Regions from separate parts of the Homo sapiens genome. Here region 1 is linked to region 2. Evidence: promoter capture Hi-C in human tissues and cell types (Jung and others, 2019). All regions are on one chromosome and are shown on one strand. The core of a region is centred on a gene start or on the middle of the fragment in contact, and the rest is flanking DNA. Distances in the headings are between cores, read along the strand shown.

Region 1 (3,547 bases), core at 972-3,471, 100 kb after region 2:
AAAAAAAAAAAAGAGACAGGACTACAAGGAAATGGACTGGGTTTTTGGAAGGTAATTTGAAGCTACAATGGGATACTGAACCATTAAGACAGTGGTAGCACTATTGATAAAAGCTTAGAAAAGGCCACACACAAAACCTTAGGACTCACTCAGCAAGCCAAAAAATGACACAATCCACAAACCATGAAGTCCAAGTACTTAAAATGAAGCAGGAATCAAAATGATGGTCAGAGAAGGCTGGGGAAAATGTAAAAACTAGACCAAAGGAACTTCAAAGGGCTTTGCTTACTATTTAATGCAAAAAGCACAGCAGGTTAATTTTCTATTTCAGGGAAAATGTCTTACTCTTTGCAGTCTGAGCTTGTTCTTCTCTGTAGAGCCTTTGACGAATTTCTTAGTTATCTGAAAACAGAAGACGTTTATCTTTAAACACGGGTTATTTCAATTGCTTCGAGAAAAAGAGAAACCTTTCCAGGTGATCAGTTTTTCCACCAACAGAACCAAAATGTCATAATAGGGTCACAAACTCCAGTAAGTGTGCATACATGTGTGTATCTGGGATTAGATAACAAGAGAGACTACGGAGGCAGATAAAGAAATGAGTGAAGGACACCAAGCACAAGAAAAACAAGGCAAGCTCAGAAATAAAGGCAACAGACAAGGCTGGGCGCGGTGGCTAACGCCTGTAATTCCAGCACTTTGGGAGGCCGAGGCAGACAGATCACCTGAGGTCAGGAGTTCGAGACCAGCCTGGCCAACGTGGCAAAACCCCATCTCTACTAAAAATACAAAAATTAGCCGAGCGTGGTGGCAGGTGCCTGTAATCCCACCTACTCAGGAGGCTGAGGCAGAAGAATCGCTTGAACCCAGGAGAAGGAGGTTGCAGTGAGCCGAGATTGCGCCACCATACTCCTGCCTGGGCAACAGGGTGAGACTCTGTCTTAAAAAAAAAAAAAAAAAAAAAGCGACAGCTGGCCTGGGCGACAGGGAGAGGATGGATTTGTAGCAAAGGAGAGAGGACCTGCCTGTCCAAAGGAGATGGAGTTCTTACAGGAATATAGATCCCTATTTGCTGGTCCTTCCAATTTCTCCAAGAGAAGCTGATATTAGGAATTTCATATGAATTTTTTTAGGTGTTTAAAAATGGACACAGACGGGCACAGTGGCTCATGCCTGTAATCCCAGCACTTTGGGAGGTCAAGGCGGGAGGATCACTTGAGCCCAGGAGTTCAAGACCAGCCTGGGCAATAAAGCAAGACCCTGTCTCTAAAAAAAGCTTTTAGTTAGTCGGGTGTTGTGGTGCACATCTGTAGTCCTAGCTACCCAGGAGTCTGGGGTGGGAGGAGCCCGGGAGGTTGAGGCTGCACTGAGCTGTCCAACCTGGGTGACAGAGTGAGACTGTCTAAAAAAAAAATAAAAAGATACTAAATTAATCAAATAAAACATGTCTCCAGGCTGGTTTCCTGTGCACCACTAATTTACATTCTGTCTAGCTCAACTCTGCTTTTTATTTTAATGTTATTTTTGAGATGGAGTCTTACTCCTGTCACAGAGGCTGGAGTGCAGCGAGTGCCACGATCTCGGCTCACTGCAACCTCTACCTCCCAAGTTCAAGCGATTCTCCTGCCTCAGCTTCTTGAGTAGCTGGGATTATAGGCGTGTGCCACCACACCTGGCTAATTTTTGTATTTTTAGTGGAGATAGGGGTTTCATCATGTTGGCCAGGCTGGTCTCGAACTCCTGACCTCAGGTGATCCACCCGCCTCGCCTCCCAAAGTGCTAGGAATTCAGGCGTGAGCCACCGCGCCCAGCCAACTCTGCTTTTTAGAATGTGGAGTGAAAGCTTAAGACAAAAGGGAAACTTGCTGGGGTTTTCTAGGACTTCTACCTTCTAGGGCACAATATTTTCTATCACCTACCTTCAAACTGAGCATGAGCTACTAGGAATTACCAATAGGATCCATGGTGTGACTCACCATCCACCTAAATGGTCCCAGGAAGGAAGACGAACAGGGAGTCTGGACTTTGGCCTAAGCTATCTCCCACCGGGGCAGGGAATCCTGAAAACCAAACTAGTAGAAGTGAAGAGCAATGGGAAGAGACGCTTAAGAGTGGGAAGAAATAGTTCTCCGGGTTCATTGCAGACTTGCAGTGTAAGACTGAAGTTGACTGAAAAACCAAAGGCCCATTTTCCTGGCAATGGTCTGAGGGGTCAACAAAATTATGTAAGTGATTTCTTTTTTTTTTTGAGACGGAGTCTCGCTCTGTCGCCCAGGCTGGAGTGCAGTGGCGCCATCTCGGATCACTGCAAGCTCCGCCTCCCGGGTTCAAGCGATTCTCCTGCCTCAGTCTGCCCAGTAGCTGGGACTATAGGTGCCCACCACCATGCCTGGGTAATTTTTTTGTATTTTTAGTAGAGATGGGGTTTCACCATGTTAGCCAGGATGGTCTCGATCTCCTGACCTCGTGATCCGCCCGCCTCGGCCTCCCAAAGTGCTGGGATTAAAGGCGTGAGCCACCGCGCCCGGCCAACAGTGATTTCTTTATCTGGGAAAGCTGAACCCCTGACTAGGACCTCTCACAGAATAAAAGCTTCAGATGAATGAGCTCAAGACAGCCTTTCCACCTGGGTCCCACTGAGTCCTTTCTGGACTAAACCTTTCTTTAGGGAAAGGCCGAGCCGTTGTGAGAAGGCTGCCCGTGTTGGCAGGAGCTCTTTCACCACCGAGATCAGGCCAGGGTGTTCAGTCTTTGCTGAGAATGTGGCAACAGAAATGCCAGCCCGAGGCAGCCTCACCAAATGCTGCAGAAAAAGCATCTGTCTCTCCAGCATCTACTCTGCCTGCCAAGGCTGTGTGCCTCTCCCCCACGCTGAGGGATTTAACTGCAGAATATGGGAGCCGCAGCTCTCCGGGGCTGCCCTTTGTGTTCAGAGATTATAATACGGAATGTGGTCTTGGGGTGGCGGGGAATTCAGTTCCTTAGTCTTGCCCATGCCTGAAGCTCAGCTGCAGAATCTCCTGCCTCTTACAATGCCCCCCCTCTGCTGTGAGTCCAGAGATAACAGACTTGATGTGACTGGCAAGAGCCCGCTCAGTAATATCCAACAACCAAAACAGAGCAATTACTGCTTAATTTAAAACTGGTATCTTTTTTGCTTTGCCAAACCCTCAGATGGACCTTGAAGTCTGACAGAACTTTATCTTCTTGAAATTTGACCCAAGTGTTTATAGATCTCACTCTCAAAATTCTATGCAACACTCCCACATTCTACCCAGCTGGAGCCCGGTCAGACAGCACCCTCAACTGCCAAAAACGTGATCCAGGATCCCAGAAGGAAGCCAAAACACAAAAACCGACAATCCCAAGGAGTCGCGACAGAGCTCACTATGTGTGGGCATGAAAATTCCTGCACCCTTTCTCAGATAATCCTCTCAGAGCCTATGGACTCTGATTTTATACTAAAGGGTATCTAATTTCTAAGCCCAGACCAGATAAGCCGCTAAAACCTGACAGCAGGGGAGCGGAGGCAGGGGGGAAAAGAGAA
Region 2 (3,186 bases), core at 190-2,689:
GGGCTCCCACCCCGGAGAAGGTGGGAGCCATGGAGGGTGCTGGGCAGAGGAGGGGTAGATCCTGGCTGGGATGTTTATGATCACTTTTTAATTTTTTCTCTCCACACACTGGGCTGTGGCTGCCCTTTGGGAAGGGGAGGGGCACCCAGAGCTCTCCCAGCCACCCTTGGGAAGCACTGGCTGGTAGAAGAGGTTGGGGGACACCCCCCCTTCTGTTCCCCCACTGTTTGGCAAACACAGTGTCGGCTCCAAGGAGACAGACGGCCTGGGAATCATCAGATCCTGTGGCTGTACCCTCCCTCCTCCCAGCCCAGTGCCCAGAGCCACCCATGGGGTCTGCCCTCTCACCCCCAATAACACAGGGCTAGGAACCCTGTCTCAGGGGCAGGTAGGAGGGGGACACAGCCCAGGGTGGGCGTTACGGCCATTCCTCTGCCCACCCACCCACAGACAGCCCAGCACATAGGCTGGGCTCAGCACGAAGGTCCTGGGTCTGGGTTTGAATCCCGTCCTCACCACTTCCTGGAACAGGAGGGTCTGGGTTTGAATCCCATCCTCACCACTTCTGGAACAGGACGCCTCCTCCAGGGAGCCTCCCTGGGTTGGCCCAAGCCCCCCAGGCTGGGTTTCCACTCCTAGGGTGCCCCCAGCTTGGCTGGTGCTCCATCTTGGTCTGCGTTTTGGCCCAAGTCCCTTCCGGAGAGTGATGGGCTCCCCTCCACACTGAGGACACCCCCTGCTCCTTGCCGAGACCCCGAGACCCCGCTTCTGCCTGGGTAACGCGAAGGCAGCATTTGTTCAGTGCATGACCTCATCTCACAGAGGCTCACAACCACTCTCTGTGTTGCTCCATTGAGCCAAACGTGTATTAAGCGCCAAATGTATGCCAGGCACTGTTCTGTGGGCGGAAGAGGGTGCCCTGTGGGAACCTGCAGGGAAGGTGTTCCAGGCAGAGGGCACAGCCCGTGCAGAGGCCCTAAGGCAGGACCGTGCCAGGTGCGCTGGAGGCATAGCGAGGAGGCCTGTGTGGCTGGGATGAAGCAAGCGAAGGAGGAAGCTGGGGGAGATGAGAGCAGAGAAGAAGCTGGATGTTACGGGACGTGGTGCGGAGTACGAGAGAGAAACCTGAAGCAAAAAGATGGTAACTGGCCAAGGCATCCTGGTGCAGCAGAGATTTGAACTACACCCACCTCGTGGATGGAACTGGAGGCTCAGGGGCCCGGGAGGGGAGCCCATCTGGCCTGTGAGCCACTCAGCCTGATGCAAGCTGTGGGCAGGAAACAGGGGAAAGGTGCTGGGCCTGGGCCCATGCTGGGCTGGGCAGGTAGCCATGTGACCGTCCAGGCCACCTCCCCCGGGCCCATTGGCCGCCTGCCGCTGCTGGCTGGGCCTGCGCCTGCCCCGGACCCTATAAGGCCAGGGAGCTGAGGGTAGAGCCAGCTGCCAGCCGGGCCGGTCCGTCCTCCAGGGGACCCCGCGCAGTCCAGGTGAGCGGGGCCGCGTCTGCTTCGGTGACACCAGGGTGAGGCCAGGCCTGCAGGTGGGTGTCGGGCTGCTCAGGCTTTCAGTGGGGAGTGGGTGTGGGATGGGAGGCTAGGGAACCCCCATTCACGCACCTTCTCTGCCCCCTTCCAGCTTCTCACGTTCTCACTATGTCTGCTCCAGACGAAGGGAGACGGGATCCCCCCAAACCGAAGGGCAAGGTAAAGAGGGGAAATGGGGCAGATTCTTGCTGGGGCCTGGAGATGCCCCAGAGCCGGGGAAGGTGACCTCCACAGTCCTGGGGTCTCGAATCTGGAGAGGTGCTTCCCTGGTGGGCTGGTGGGGGCGGTCTGGGAGCCATGATGCCAATCCCTTCCTTTCTGACCCAAGCTGGAGGCGGGGGACCCACGCAGACCTCGACACCTTCCCCAGCAAGTGACCTTGGGCCGGCCTCAGCTCCGCCCCTCTCTGAGCCTCAGTTTCCCCATCTGTGCAGTGGGGATCCTGGAAGGAAAAGGTCTTTGGAGATCGGGTAGACGATCTTTTCCTCTGTGCATGGGAGGCAGGCTGAGTCTGCCCATTGCCCAGGTGTGGAAATTGAGGCTGAGTGGCTGAAACACTTTCCTGAGGTCACCCAGGAGCAAGGGGCCGGGGCGGCATTGGGCTGATCAATCGATGCTTCCTCTGACCCGTTCCTGCCGAGGCTTGGCCTGCTCATCCTGCACACCCCCCGCCCCCATGCAGACCCTGGGCAGCTTCTTTGGGTCCCTGCCTGGCTTCAGCTCTGCCCGGAACCTGGTGGCCAACGCACATAGCTCGGCGAGAGCCCGGCCGGCCGCTGACCCCACAGGAGCGCCTGCTGCCGAGGCTGCCCAACCACAGGCTCAGGGTGAGTGGCTGGCCCAGCTGGGGGCGTGGGGGGACTCTACACATGGACCTGGGAGAAGGAGCTCCCCGGGCAGGGACTTCCAGCCATTTGGGGAGTCCTCCATATTTGTCTGTGTGCTCTCATCAGACACTAGGACATCTTGTGGTGGATGGGGAAACTGAGGCATAAATATGGGGGGTGAGTGGCCGAAGGTGGCTTTCAACCCAGCCTGTCTCCCTGCAATGCCCCCCCACTCAGTCCCTCGGCCGTTCCCCCACCCTGCACTCCGTTTCTGATGCACCATGGCCCAGGCTGGGTGCTCTGCCCATCTGAGCTCATCAGAGTGAGATCCAGACTCCCAGGGAGGAGCAACAGCTCCCCTGGGGTCACACAGCCCAGGGGCTCCCCAGCCTCCTGTGGCTCAGCTTGGGCGATCAGGGACGGTGACAGGGAACCCAGGGTTGGGGCAGCCGCCTGAGCTGGGCCTCCCTCTGGGCCCAGAGCCCCAGGCAGCTGACTTCTGCTCCACATGCCTTGGCCTGGCAATAGGCAGCAGGCAGCTGCGGTGGGGGCGGGGCGGGCTGGGCAAGGGGCTGTTCCCCCATGCCAGGCTATATGAACCCCGGGACTCAGGGTGGGTGTCCACCCAGCAGAGGAAGTTCCACAGAGCCCTACTTCAGGGAACAGCGGCCCTGGGCTTGGGGGGAGCCCCCAGCGGGGTTGGGGGGTGACCAGGTCTGGCTGGTAGCCGTGGATGTCACCTCCTGCTGTCCCTGGCGGGGTAGCTGAAACATTCCTGACCTTTTAGGCTGTGCCTGGCTATTGTGCAATGGGCA

The links. The method cuts DNA at HindIII sites, captures the fragments that hold promoters and counts their contacts. A contact is called where the count stands out against the background at its distance.
Region 1: a fragment that was not itself captured here is called in contact with the fragment with the promoter of PLIN4 in region 2 in 2 of the 25 tissues and cell types used here (dorsolateral prefrontal cortex and liver).

Annotation. Positions count from the first base shown.
Region 1 is chr19:4,414,875-4,418,421 of GRCh38, reverse strand. CHAF1A (chromatin assembly factor 1 subunit A) reads right to left here. Exons shown (of 15, transcript NM_005483.3): 4 at 346-402. Among named protein-coding and RNA genes, the nearest start is that of CHAF1A, 14 kb to the right of the region's middle. The HindIII fragment of the contact is 3,051 bases long and covers 696-3,547 here.
Region 2 is chr19:4,516,739-4,519,924 of GRCh38, reverse strand. PLIN4 (perilipin 4) reads left to right here and starts at 1,439. Exons shown (of 8, transcript NM_001367868.2): 1 at 1,439-1,540; 2 at 1,636-1,703; 3 at 2,227-2,371. The coding sequence starts at 1,653. The HindIII fragment of the contact is 33,356 bases long and covers 1-3,186 here.